Linked DNA regions of Homo sapiens: regions 1, 2, 3 and 4 are each linked to region 5. The links are contacts of gene promoters, found by promoter capture Hi-C in human tissues and cell types (Jung and others, 2019). All regions are on one chromosome and are shown on one strand. Each heading gives the region's core, a stretch centred on a gene start or on the middle of the fragment in contact. The rest is flanking DNA. Distances are from core to core; before and after follow the strand shown.

Region 1 (2,700 bases), core at 189-2,688, 880 kb after region 5:
TAAACCCACAGACCATCTCCAGCAATGCCAGGCTGGTTGCTGTGTGCCAAGAACAAGGAGAAGGCGGAACCAGGGGCTGCAGAACCAGCCCCTCCCCAATGAGGACCCCCTCTGGACGCCCCTCCCCATGGAGAACACCAGGAGCCACAGACCCCAGACCACAGAGCACACAGGGGAGGGCACGGGGCGGCCGGGGCAGGGTGTCTGCTGCCTCGTTTATGGGATTTGCTCCGCGTCTAGCACACTGCTGCCTGCAGTGCTCCTGTCCCCTGCAGTGGCTACTCTGGGCCTACGGGCCTAATCCTGGTTGGCATGAAAATGTCCTGAGGCTACTGTGACAAATTTCCACAAGCTGAGTGGCTTAAAGGAACACATTTGTTCTCTTACAGTTGCAGGGGCCAGAAGAGTCTAAAAACAGTCAGCAGGGCTGGTTCCTCCTGGAGGCTTAGAGGGGCTGAATCCGTTTCCTGCCTTTTTTAGTATCTGGAGGGCGCCTGCATCCCCTTGCTTATGGCCCCTTCCATCACCAAAGCCAGTAGTGTCACATCTTTCCACCTCTCCCTGACCCTGACCTCCGCCCTTTCTCTTAGAAGGACCCTGTGTGACTTTGGACCTACCTAGATAATTTAGGGTCATCTCTCATTTCAGGAACCTGAATTTAATCCCACCTGCAAGTCCCTTTTGCCAGGTAAGGTCACAAATTCACAGGGTCTGAGGATGAAGATGTGGACCTCTTTGAGGGCCATGATTCAGCCCACCACGTCTGGTGACGAGGGATGGAGTGTGTTCTGCAGCAGTGGGGGCCTATGCAGACCTATCCCGAAGTTCAAGGAAGCAGAGAGGCCGAAGAAAGAAGCTGCCCTTGGCCAGGTGCAGTGGCTCAGCCCTGTAATCCGAGCACTTTGGGAGGCTGAGGCAGGTGGATCACGAGGTCAGGAGTTCAAGACCAGCCTGGCCAACATGGTGAAACCCCATCTCTACTAAAAATACAAAAGTTAGCTGGGCATGGTGGCGGGCGCCTGTAATCCCAGCTGTTCGGGAGGCTGAGGCAGGAGAATCGCTTGAGCCCCGGAGGTGGAGGTTGCAGTGAGCCGAGTTCGCACCACTGCACTCCAGTCTGGGAAACAGAGCAAAGACTCCATCTCAAAAAAAAAAAAAAAAAGAAGAAGAAGAAGAAGCTGCCCAATCCAGTTTCTCAGAAAGAAACATTTAATAGGGACTTCGGAACAGAAGCCATGTCTGTGTCTGGGGCCCACCCATCACCCCCAAGCCTAGGGCTTATGTACCGTAGGGGAGGGGTGCGTGTGGTTCAGAAGGGATGTGCTGGACAGTTGAAGCAGACAGCATCCCAGTCATTTGCCCTAAGGGCAGGATTTAGGGTAAGTACCTGCCTTTACACAAGGAACAATAGATGAGCTGAAAATCTGAGAGGCCTTCCTAGAACTGGGGTTCATCAGACAACAACAGGGTGGGTTAGCCTCCAAGCTGGAACTGCTGTGGCGTGTCCAGGGGTGGGGCATGTGCTGGCTTGGTCATCTCCCCCTCCGAGGGTCTGAGCCAAATATCCAGCAGCAAACATGCTCGGCCCTGAAGCCTCAGCCATTGTGAGGACTCTGGCTGGGCCTTCTTCCCCCGATGGGTGGGAAAGGCCGGCCTCAAGTCCAGGACCTGCCCTTGAGGCCATGCTGGCTTAGGGCTTCAAATCTGGGTTCCTAGGAAAGGGGCTGGGCTCCAGTGGCGTGGGGGTGGGGACGGCAGATGGAGGGAGGCTGGGAAGGGAGAGAAGGAACCTCATGGGCAGTTAGGCTCCCGGGGCTTCTCTGGGGACACCACCAGCAGAGTGTGGTTGTTGACACCTCCCTGGGGCTCGGGGTCTTCCTTTGGCCCCAGTGAACACCTGTCACACACTCGCTGGGATGGACTGACCTTCAGGGTTTGCTGCCACCCGTGTCCTCCACCCTGGTAGGGCCTTTCCAAGACACTTGTGGGGACAGGCCGGGCCTGGCCAGCATCCGGTAGGCTGCACTTTCCGGAGGCCTCTGGGATTACAGGCCACCTCACCCCAGCTGGAATTCTGCCTAAATTACTGCATTGAGGAGATTCCCTCACAAGGTGCGGACTCAGGCTGGCCCTGAAACAGCCGTCACCTCCACGAGGCCGGCCCAGGCCCCTGCGCACTGCCCTGCTCATGCCCCCATCCATGCCAGCTCCCACCAAGCCCGTGCCCCTGCCAAAGAGCTGGGGGAAGGGATGGGAGACAGACTTCTCTTTCCTTATTTCTATTTTTTTTTTTTTTTCCAGACAGGTTCTCACTCTGTCACCCAGGCTGGAGTGCAGTGGTGTGATCTCAACTCACAGCAACTTCTGTCCAAGCAATTGGCCTCAAGCCATCCTCCCGCCTCAGGCTCCCGAGTAGCTGGACCACAGGCACACCACCACGTCCAGCTCATTAAACAATTTTTTTGTAGAGATGAGGTCTTGCCATGTTGCCCAGGCTGGTCTCGAACTCCTGGGCTCAAGTGATCCTTCCTCCTCGGCCTCACAAAGTGCCGGAATTACAGGCGTGAGCCACCACTCCTGGCTCTTATTTCTGTTTTTTCTGGTAACAGCTTTATTGAGTTACAATTCATTCCATATGACTCAGCCATTTGAAGGGTACAGTTCAGGCTGTGATTATAAAGGCAGCACTGTTGAGGACAC
Region 2 (2,700 bases), core at 1-2,500, 550 kb after region 5:
GAACTAAAAACGGTTACTATTTACCCACCACGACAATCAAGCCTGGAGCAGTGAATCTGCATGGGGTCCACCCGCCAAAGGTCGGGTCGCCCCGGGTCCAGTGGGGAGGCCCCGCCGGCTGGGTCCCACCGCCCCCACGCACCTGCGTTTTGGTGACTCGATGCCGCGCCAGCTTCACCACCGCGAAGTTGCCTTTGCCCAGGGTCCGCTCGATGTCGTAAAAACCCACCCGGAGGGGCTTCTGCTGGCCCTGACCCTGGCCCGCGGGGTCCGCGCTGAACTCCGACATGATAACCATGGCTCCGCGCGCACCTGCGGGGCCGCACAGAGCTCAGAGCCCACCAGCGCCCCCGCCGCCCGCGGTCGGCTCCATCCGTGCCCGCGGAGCCCCCAGTCCCCACGGGACGCAGGGACCTGCTCCCACGCCTGTCGCCCCCACTCTATCCACGGGCCCCTCCAGCCCCGTGGGAGGTGTGGACCCGCCCCCGCCGCCCGCTCCACCCGGACCCCCGACCCTCTTGAGCCCCGCGGGGCGCACGGACCCGCTCTCATAGAGGCCCCTGCCGCCCGAGTCCGGTTCCGTCCCGATCCCGGGACCCCCTGAGCCGGGATTCCACACTCGCCTCCCGCCGCCCGCTGTCGGTTCCGTCCCCACCCTCGACCCCTTTAGCACCTCTGGGCGCGGACCCGCTCCCACACCTGGCCCTGCCACCCGAGGTCGGCTCGATCCGGATCCCAGGACCGTCCCCTGCCCCGCTCCCACACCCTGCCCCCGCCGCCCGCGATCCGTCCGGTCCCCACCCCCGACATCCCAGGCACCTCGGGGATCGCGGACCCGCCCCCCACACCCGGTATCTCCGCCCGCGGTCGGCTCCAACCTGACCCCCGGCTCCCCAGCCCCTGAGCCCCGCGGACTCACTCCTACCCCGGCCCCCCAACAAAGGGGAGCCCGAGGGCGGCCAGGCCGCCAACCCCGCCCGCGAACCCCGCGCGCGCAAGGCCAGGGACCCTGCGCGGTGGCTGCAACCCCGAGCCCCGGCCCGGCGCCCGCGCGGAGCCCCCACGGCGGCCACCTCCGCCCGCCCGGAGCCCGCCGCTGCCGCCGCTGCCGCCGCTGCCGCCGCCTCACCTCCGCCGCCACCGGAGCGCCCAGGCCAGGAAGCCGCCCGCTCGGCCGCTGGCGCTGCTCGGGTGCCTACTGCTCCGGCTGCCGCCGCCGCTGCTGCTGCCTCCGGGGCCGCGCCGCATGTCAGCCCGGAGCCGCCGCGCTCCGCCGCACGCGGCGCCCGGCCCCGCCCCGGCCCGCCCCGGCCCGCCCCCCGTAGTCCCCGCCCCCTGCCCCGCCCCCGCCGCCCGGGCGGGGGCCGCCCATTGACGTCGCTTTGACGCCAGAGCGACGCGCGGCCGAGCGCCGGGCGGAGGGAGAGCGGGAGATCGGGCGGTTGCCAAGAGACTGGCGGCTCTGACGCGCGCGGGATGAGGCCGTTGCCCTGGCGACCGCGGGCCGGTGACGTCAGGGGCGCCCGCCGCCCGAGGCCCGCCCGCCTGCGCTCCGCCGGGCGCCCCCTCCCGGGCGCTGGGGGCACTGCGGGCGGCCCCACCGCCGAGGGCGCGCCCGCCCCTCCACGCTCGGGCACTCGGGCCGGGTCCCGCGGGCGCCTTGTGCTCGCTCCCTCCAGGAGGGGACGGCTCTCGGGCAGGGGTCGCCGGCCCCTCCACGCGGCCTGCGTTCGTCCAGACTCAGAGCCTCGGGACGTGCGGGGGCCCGGGGGCCTCGCGGGCTCGCGCGTGGGGCTGGCGGCGCGGATGCCCTGGGGCGCTGCAGACCCCGAGAGGCCGCTTGCCCGCGGGGACGTCAGCCGCTTTTGCTGTTAAAATCTGAAATGTTCAGCAAGTTAGAAACTTGAAACCTAAGGAAGCGTGACCGGCCGCTCTGGAAGCCCCCGCCGCGCGGCCGGTCCCGGCCCCGGCCCTCAGCGGCGCTGGCGTCTGCGCGTCCCGGGGCTGCCCCCGCAGCATGTGGGGCTGGGACCCTCTTCCCGCGCGGGCCCCGGGCGGACGCTGCGGGCGGTGACGGAGCCAGGCCGGCCGCCTGGGTAGGGGACGGGGGCGCGGGACCACTTGCTTGCCCGTGGCCGATGCCTCATCCGAACGGAAAACGTTTTCTTCAGGGGAGACAGAGGCTGTGGGCGAAGGTATTTTTTAAGCCTGAGGACCCATTTGGGAGTTAGATTCTGGATCGAGCCTAGGGTCAGTTTTCCTTGTGTTAAATAACACTACTTCACAGAAGGGGGAACGAGAATTCAGGGGAGTTGGCACAAAACTTGGAACCCTTCTCGGGAGGCTTTCCTGCCTGGACGGACGCCTGGGAGGAGGGCCCGGAGAAACGAGGATGAGCTTCTCCTCATTCGCCCGAGGGTCTGACCACAGATTTCCCAATCGCCACACACACACACACACACACACACACACACACACACACACGGGTTGTTTGGGAGTCAGTTGGTTTTCAAAGGCTTTCAAGGAAATGAAGAGTCCCAAAGTTTTCCTTAATCGTTCAGAGTGTTTTTCTTTGTCCCAGGTTTATATACCAAGAATACGGGGGAATATTTTTAGTTCCTTTCAGCTGAACAGTGTACAACTGCCTTTTTTCCTTTTGGAGGTCCCAACACCCTGTTAATCCGCTCCTAGGAGAACTAA
Region 3 (2,700 bases), core at 142-2,641, 760 kb after region 5:
TGGAAATGTTCTAAAAGTTGATTGGACAAAATCCAACACTCAGTAATTATAAAAATAAATAAATAAATAAATAAATAAAAATTCTCAGTCAGGCCCAGTGGCTCATGCCTGTAATCCCAGCATTTTAAGGAACCAAGGTGGGAGGTTCACTTGACAAGAGAGAGAACTTGGAGACCAGCCTTGGCAACACAGCAAGACCCTATCTCTACAAAAACTTAAAAAAAAAAAAAATTAGCTGTATGGTGGCATATGCCTATAGACTCAGGAGGTTCAGGCAATTGGATCCTTTGGGCCCAGGAGTTCAAGGCTGCAGTGAGCTTTGATCACACTACTGCACTCCAGCCTGGGCTACAGAGTGAGGCCCTGTCTCTGGAAAAAAAAAAAAGAAAGAAAAAAGGAACTCAGCAAACTAGGAATAGAGGGGAACCTTCTCAATTTTATAAACGCATCTGCAAAAACCTACAGCTAAAATCATAATTAACGCTGAAAGATTGAATACTTTCCCCTGAGATCAGGAACAAGGCAAAGATATCCACTCTCACCACTCTTATTCAGCACAGTGCTGTAGTGCTGGAAGGCCTGGCTACGCAAGAAGGAAAGAGGAAGAAATAAAAGGTATACAAAGCAGAATGAAGAACTAGAACAGCCCCTATTTTCAGATGACATGATTGTCCATGTAGAAAATCTCAAGAAATCCATAAAAGAACTCCTAGAAGTCAAAAAGAGTTCAGAAAGACTACAGGGGCCGGGTGCGGTGGCTCACACCTGTAATCCCAGCACCAAGAGACCAAGGCAGGCGGATCACTTGAGGTCAGGAATTCGAGACCAGCCTGGCCAACATGGTAAAACTGTGTCTGTACTAAAAATACAAAAATTACCCAGGCATGGTGGCGCACATCTGTAATCCCAGCTACTCGTGAGGCTGAGGCAGGAAAATTGCCTGAACCTGAGAGGCAGAGGTTGTAGTGAGCTGCGATCACACCACTGCACTCCAGCCTGGGGGACAAGATAAACAAACAAAAAGCAACCACATTTCTATGTGCTAATTAAAAAATGGAAACCAAAATTAAAAACACAATACCATTTACGGTTACTCCAAATAAAATTAAATACTTAGGTAAAAATCTAATACAAATGTGTATGCTGAAAATAATTAGGTAAAAATCTAACACAAATCTAGATGCTGAAAATAATTGTAAACTGCTGATGAAAGAAATTAAAGACAACTTAAAGAAATGGAGAGACATGCTATGTTTATGAATTGAAAGATTCAACATAGTAAAGATATCAATTCTCTACAAACTGATCTACAAACGTACCACAATTTCTATTAAAATTCCAGCAAGGTTTTTGTAGACATAAACAAGCTTACTCTAAAATTTATGCGGAAAAGCAAAGAAGCTAGAATAGTTAGGGCAACTCTGAAAAAGAGGAATGAAATGGGAAGAATCATTTTATCCAGTGTTAAGGCTTACTATGTCGCTACAGTAATCAGAATAATGTATTATTGGTGCAGGAACAGATCAAAGTACCTGAGTAGAGAACCCACAACAGACCCAGGCCAGTATGACTGAATTTTGACAATGGTGCAAAAGCAATTCAATGAAGGAGAGAGAGTCTTTTTGAGAAACAGTGCTGAAGCAACTGGACAACGATAAGCCAAAGAAAAAAATATTAACTTGAACTTAATCCTCATACCTTCTACAAAAATTAACTCAAAATGAATCATAGACTTAAATGTAAAATGTAAAACTATAAAACCATTAAGAAAAAAGAATGGGAGAAAATTGTGGTGACCTAGAGCTATGTGAAAAATTCTTAGACATAACAACAAGAAAACAGTCTATAAAAGGAGAAATCAGTAAATTGGACTTCATTAAAATTTAAAACATTCGCTTTTTGAAAGAACCTGTGAAGATGAAAAGAGCAGCTACAGACTGGGAGAAAAGACTTGCAAAACATATACTCAGCAAAGGACTTCTATCTAGAATATATCAAGAGCTCAAACGCAAAAGTAAAAAAAGAAAAAATCCAATTAGAACATGGGTAAAAGACACGAAAAAAACATTTCATAAAAGAGAATACACAGACAGAAAATAAATGCATGAAATGATGCTCAACATCATTAGCTGTTAGGGAAATGCAAATTAAAACCACAACAAACCTATCAAAATGACTAAAATTCAAAATAGAATAACACCAAATACTGGTTAGGACATGGAGAAAGTGAATCACTCATACATTTTGGTGGGACTCTAAAATGGTACAGACACTCTGGAAAACAATTTGGCAATTTCTTCCAAAACTAAATGTGCACTTACCATACAACCCAGTAATTGTACTCTCGGGCATTTATCACACAAAAATAAAGACACACATTCACACAAAAACCTATACATGGATGTTACTAGTGTCTTTATCAGTAATAGAAAAAAAAACCGTAAGAACTATTCAAACTTCTTTCAGTGGAGGAATTACAACATATTGCAAACAAATTGCAACATATACATACCATGGAATATGAGGCAATAAAAATATCTAACGATACATGCAACTTGGATGTATCTGAGTGAAAGTCAGTCTCTGCCAGGCACCCATGGCTCATGCCTGTAATCCCAGCACTTTGGGAGGACAAGGCCAAAGGATCAACTGAGCCCAGGGGTTCAAGACCAGCCTGAGTAACATAGCGAACCTGTCTCT
Region 4 (2,700 bases), core at 1-2,500, 650 kb before region 5:
GGAGGAGCCTCTGAAGGAGGCAACAGGTTGTTTGGGCAAAATCGGGGTCTGGAGGTTGAGAGGCTGAGCTTCTCTTCCCAACGCCGTCACTGCTGTGGTCAATTTATTCTATTGCTTTCTGCCTGAATTTTCCTCTCCTATAAAATGAACAGGTTGGATTTGGTGATCTCAAAGTTCATGGTTGCTCTGAAATTCTGCGATGTCATTATGGAGAATTTCACAAAGATTGACGGGTGTCAAAGTGTGCCTGTTTCTGGCATGTGCTGAGAGAGTCCTCTTTTGTGGATGCTGTTCATGTCCATCTTTCAAGATGGAACTGTTTTTCAACCGCCCAGAGCAAAATGGGGGACAGGTGCCCCCCTCCCAAGCGTGAAGTGTTAAAAAGTGGCCAGTGACCTAGACTGACCTCTCCAGAGACCCATCTTGAAAGGATTCTTTTGTGGGTGGTTGTGGTAGGCTAGAAAGAAAACTAAACTGTTGAAAAGAGCTGATACATAAAAATAGAAAAAACAGAGAGGATAGAGCTCAGGAGGTGTCTGGAACGCCACACAGTGCAGGAGTTTGCCACTAGCTTGTTGCATGTTACAGGAAATTGATGAGTGGTAGTTTGAGTTTTCTCAGCAACCTTCCCTAGCTCTAGAGTTTCACAGTTTGTGGAGTTAATGCCGCCCTGGGTTGGTGTGTTTTTTTCAAGCCTGATCTGTTTCTTCTGTGGAATTTATCCTTCATCTCCTTATGCTCCAAGCACTCATTGTCTGCTCCTAAGTGGATCAGACAGGTGGGTTGGGGGAGCTGATAGGCAGAGGACGTGTCAGACTTCATCAAGAAACCATGGTCCCTAGTTTCTACTGAATCATGGAAAGCAATTTGAAAATCTGGGAGGACTTTGGAACAATACAAATGACTCAGGTACCCCTGGAATATGCTAATATTTTAGGACTTTGAACTTAAAACTGGATTCAGCCCTTCTTTCATTTTGAAGAAGACCAATCAAGACTCACGTTTTAAATTTTCAGTTGTCTTTCTTCTTTTCCCTATTATCTTCTTTTTGTTTTTCTACCCTCTTGAAGCTAAGTCTTTGAGACCCTTAGCATGGGCAGTCCCATCTTCATTGTAATCACAATTTTAGAGCTTTGAAAGACTGGTCCCTGGGATCTGCAAGCCCAGTTGGTGGCTGGGTAACTGTATGTCTGTGTTTGCACAAGCAGAAACAGATTCAGTACCTTCTCAACAGACAACAGTATAGCACTGTGATGTGATACTTGCATTTTCAGAGCATACCAGCCTGTTCTGTTAAGAAAGCAGCTCTGTGGCAGGCTCAGATGTGGGCCCACTCCTTTGATCATGTTGAAATTTCAACATAGGGTTCTAGAATTCTCCTTCTCAACTTAAAGAAATATTTTATAGAAAAATGTATCAAGAAACCAGGACACCGCGTCATGTTTTGGCGTCGTTTGTCTATATAGACAAATTATGGCAAAGCAGTGAGCAACATAGAGCGATTCCTGTCCGTCTGTTATGTGTGGCCTTGGAAATGTTGTCATGACAGTAGAAAATGCTGGGAAAGGTGTCTTGTAAAATGAAGATGGGTTGTAATGCAGAAATGAAGACATCTGAAACCTGGTGGCATCTGGGTTTGAAATGTCTTGGCATAAGCCTGGCACACAGGTGTAGCCAGTGTTTGCAAGCAGTGAGTATCGCTCCCCTACCCAGTGTGTTTGTCCATTTTCACACTGCTATAAAGAACTACCTGAGACTGGGTCATTTTTAAAGGAAAGAGGTTTAATTGGCTCACAGTTTGGCATGGTTGGGGAGGGCTCAGGAAACTTACAATCATGGCAGAAGGTGAAGGGGAAGCAAGGCATGTCTTACATGGTGGCATGGGGTGAGGGGAGAGAGAGAGAGAGAGCATAAAAGAACCCACACACATTTAGAACATTAGATCTCATGAGAACTCCCTCACTATCATGAGAACAGCATGAGGGAACCGCCCCCAGGATCCAATCACACCTCTCGCCCAGTCCCTCCCTTGACACGTGGGGATTACAATTCAAGATGAGATTTGGGTGGGGACACAGAGCCAAACCACATCACCCAGTATGTGACTTGTCACCCCTATATTCTCTAAGTGTTTAAACTGATCACATGAATCATCACAGTTAGCCAGCTGGTAATGGCTTGTAGTGAGGGAGGAGCCCCAACTGTCCATTCTTAGGAGCGCAGCCCGGGCGGGGTGGCCACCAGATAGAGACTTGCCCTACAGTAACCTTGTGTGCTCAGGCAGGGGAAGAGCCTGCAATGGGCCGCCGAGGGACCTGCCCATGACTCAGAAATGGGTGGAGCCAGAGGGGTTGACAGACAGGATATGTCTGCTGTGTTCCAGCTGCTGGTTTCTGCAGGGGCCAAGGGTAGTTTTGCTGTCTGGCTTCCTACCCACTGCCCTCCCCAGCCACAGCAGCACCTGCGTCTGTCTTCCCTCTCCCTGCTCCTCCTCCCCTGCCTGCCCCATCCTTTCCTTTGTTCCTGGTGCCTACAATTCAGAGTCTAGATGGTTTATCACTCCAGCACACAGAATAGAAAGGAAACTGAGACAAAGGTGGTTAAGGGACTTGCCCATGCTCCTGGGCTTGAAAGGGGCAGGGCTGGGATGAGGACAGCAATTTCTAGCTCTGTGCACTCCGACACAGTGGCCATGCCTTG
Region 5 (2,700 bases), core at 171-2,670:
CAAAGAGCCATTACTATTTAGAAACATATCTCACCTACCTGAAAGTGTTCCCATGACCCCAGGCACTTACCAACATAAGAATCACCCATTTTCCATACTGAACCTAAACTTCGGTTTATCCCATCCTCACCCCCTGGCACGTATCTTGTACATATTTATAGCCTTTAAAGCGAGTGCACCAAAAAACTTTCCATATGGAACCGTGGACTTGTCTTCCAAGTCAGAAACTCCACCAGCCACTAGAATTTCCTCAAAATGCAAAGACTGAAGGTAAGCAAATCATGTCTAATATATCCACAGCTCACTCTGGCAGATATTAGACCGTGAGTCTCTAAAACAAAATCATCTGGGATATGTGACGGGTTTCTGAGTACAATTTTTGTGAGACCTAACTTAACATCGAATTGGCTTTCTAAAACCAAACGAACAAAAAATATACAGTATATCTGACAGACACGTCGTCCGTTTCAAATATGAAATCACAAATAACCTGGGAAAGGAAACGAGGGGCTGAAACTGACAGCACTACTAATTGCTCCGAGAGTCCTGAGTTAGGACTGTTCCATCAACAAACATTTACTAAGTTAAAAATCCCCTGCGTCGTCCTAGCACTGGCGATACACTAAGGAAGGAGAATAAAATTACGGAAAGCAAAACCCGAGCCGTGCGAAGGGCCACTAGGGAGGTGCGCACTGCGAGCTCCACGTGCACCCTTGGGTTGGGTAAGTGTCGGAGATGACTTGGAGCCCTAAGGAGCAATTAAGGCCAGGTGAGTGGATGCAGGCCGGGAAGAGGGAACAGACAACCCTGCAAAAAGAGGGAGCGCGCTTGGAGGTCAGTGAGCTCGCAGTGAGTAAGCCCCTCCCTTCTCACCAGGGAGACCCGAGACCCGCTTCTTCCCAGTTCTGCAGAGCGTGTTCGGCCGGGCCTTGCTGACTGGTCAGCGTCGCCCCACGTGCTCTACCTACCCGGTCCCCGCCGGCGCCGCGGAGACCGGAAGCGACCCGGCGGCGCTAACCGGGCAAGAACACCGCAGACCAGCCATCTAGTGCAAGGAGCGCGCCGGAGCCGGGGAGCGGACGCCGAGAGCGGACGGCGAAAGCGGACCCTCCAGGCGCAGAGACGCGGCCAGGCCGAGACTGCGGCGGAGGACTCGTGGGCTGGAGCGGAGTTCCCCGGGGTCACCCCAGAGTGGGTGCGACCAGGCGGTGCGGGAGAAGCGGGGTCGCCAGGACCCGACGCGCGCCCGCAGCCTGGTCTCCCTGTTCCAAGACCAAGGCCCCCTCACCTGCTTGCTATGGAGGTGGCCAGGAATCGGCTGCCGCCCCGCACCACCAACGTCTGCCCGCACAACGCCAGTCCCACAGAGCCCGCCATGTACCCGCCCGCCTCACCGCCATACACATGTGCCAGCCCAGAGCCTCTTCCTGTCCGCACCGGTCGGTGACGCCAGGCGCAGACGCCGAGAGATGACGTATACCCCACGTACCGCGCATGCTCAAGGACGAGCCTGCCTTGAGCATGCGTGAAAGGTGCTGTGACCGCCCTCCGGGTTGTGGCTGGTGGCCTTCGGTGTTTCGGGTTTGGCAGTTCACTCACCAAGGTGATCTGATGGAGTGCACTTCGCACGATTCCAAGTACTTGCCTAATGTTCATCCTTTCCTCTAGACGGGGTAGGGCTGGTTCTGGATCTTTTTCCGCGGTAGCTGGAGAGACGTAGGACCTGATGATGGCTACTAGATGCCTGGTAAATGATCCTTCAAGAAGTGAATGAACCGGGGGCCGTGGCTCACATGAAGTCAGCAGTTCGAGAGCAGCCTGACCAATATGGTGAAACCCCGTTTCTACTAAAAGTACAAAAATTTGTTGGGCGTGGTGGCGTGCGACTGTAGCCCCAACTACTTGGGAGGCTGAGACAGAAGAATTGCCTGAACCCGGGAGGCGGAGGTTGCAGTGAGTCGAGATCGCCCCCGCTGCACTCCAGCCAGGGCGACAGAGCGAGACTCTCTCTCAAAAAAAAAAAAAATGTCCAAGATGTGGTCATGGGTGAGGGTGTCTCGGGTGGCGTCAAGTCTGAGGTCGCTAGAAGTAAGCCTACTGAATCTTTGCACTTAGACAAGCCACAGATGCCTTAAAATCTCCGAACTGTAGTGATATTTTCAACCCAAACTATGGTTAGTTTCCAGTGTTCATCCCAAGATCCCCAAAAGCCTCTTACAATCCCAGCATCAGGCACAAAATCTAGGATCTCACGGTCTGTTTTAGATTGGCTTGTCCGGTGCAGCTCCTCTTGATCCAGAGACTTACAAACTAAAAAGATTAATTTTCTCTCCCGTGCACGCAATATATGATGGTGAGCCGGGACCAGATAACCACAATAAATACTTGCATGTGAAAATGAGAAGAGGAGGAGACACAGTAATCACTGGTCCAAAGCAATTCTGAAATCCTACTGGAAGATGTTTTCAGGCCCTACAAGAATAAGAAGTCTTAACCAGGCCCGAGTTCTGCTTCCTGGGAGTATCTCCCCAGGCTGTATCTCAGCACAGCTCTTGCCTCTGCCCTCTTGGGTGTCCCTCCTTTTCCAGCACCTTCTTGGCCATGTTGAAGAATGTGCCCTTTGAGAAACTTTCTCAACCTCCTTCCTGTCATTAGCAAATTGTGAGCCCACAGACCTTTTTTCACTCTAAACTGTTCTGT

Evidence for each region. The method cuts DNA at HindIII sites, captures the fragments that hold promoters and counts their contacts. A contact is called where the count stands out against the background at its distance.
Region 1: a contact is called between a fragment that was not itself captured here and the fragment with the promoter of WDR4 in region 5, in 1 of the 25 tissues and cell types used here (lymphoblastoid cells).
Region 2: a contact is called between the fragment with the promoter of SIK1 here and the fragment with the promoter of WDR4 in region 5, in 6 of the 25 tissues and cell types used here (hippocampus, lymphoblastoid cells, mesenchymal stem cells and 3 more).
Region 3: a fragment that was not itself captured here is called in contact with the fragment with the promoter of WDR4 in region 5 in 3 of the 25 tissues and cell types used here (lymphoblastoid cells, mesendoderm cells and spleen).
Region 4: a fragment that was not itself captured here is called in contact with the fragment with the promoter of WDR4 in region 5 in 2 of the 25 tissues and cell types used here (hippocampus and spleen).

Annotation. Positions count from the first base shown.
Region 1 is chr21:43,762,739-43,765,438 of GRCh38, forward strand. No RefSeq gene overlaps it. Among named protein-coding and RNA genes, the nearest start is that of CSTB, 12 kb to the right of the region's middle. RefSeq lists enhancers at 1,210-1,955, 1,956-2,700. The HindIII fragment of the contact is 5,686 bases long and covers 1-2,700 here.
Region 2 is chr21:43,425,881-43,428,580 of GRCh38, forward strand. It overlaps SIK1 (salt inducible kinase 1), which reads right to left and starts at 1,251. Exons shown (of 14, transcript NM_173354.5): 1 at 1,130-1,251; 2 at 143-312. The coding sequence starts at 298. The HindIII fragment of the contact is 13,239 bases long and covers 1-2,700 here.
Region 3 is chr21:43,637,435-43,640,134 of GRCh38, forward strand. All of the region lies in intron 4 of HSF2BP (heat shock transcription factor 2 binding protein), which reads right to left. Among named protein-coding and RNA genes, the nearest start is that of HSF2BP, 21 kb to the right of the region's middle. The HindIII fragment of the contact is 7,158 bases long and covers 1-2,700 here.
Region 4 is chr21:42,225,948-42,228,647 of GRCh38, forward strand. All of the region lies in intron 2 of ABCG1 (ATP binding cassette subfamily G member 1), which reads left to right. Among named protein-coding and RNA genes, the nearest start is that of ABCG1, 8.2 kb to the left of the region's middle. RefSeq lists enhancers at 2,229-2,278, 2,469-2,700. The HindIII fragment of the contact is 8,263 bases long and covers 1-2,700 here.
Region 5 is chr21:42,878,119-42,880,818 of GRCh38, forward strand. WDR4 (WDR4 tRNA N7-guanosine methyltransferase non-catalytic subunit) reads right to left here and starts at 1,421. Exons shown (of 11, transcript NM_018669.6): 1 at 1,289-1,421. The coding sequence starts at 1,377. LOC105372817 (a long non-coding RNA gene) reads left to right here and starts at 1,594. Exons shown (of 4, transcript XR_937765.3): 1 at 1,594-1,637. RefSeq lists enhancers at 1-446, 447-1,411, 1,064-1,113, 1,144-1,253, 1,324-1,673. The HindIII fragment of the contact is 11,595 bases long and covers 1-2,700 here.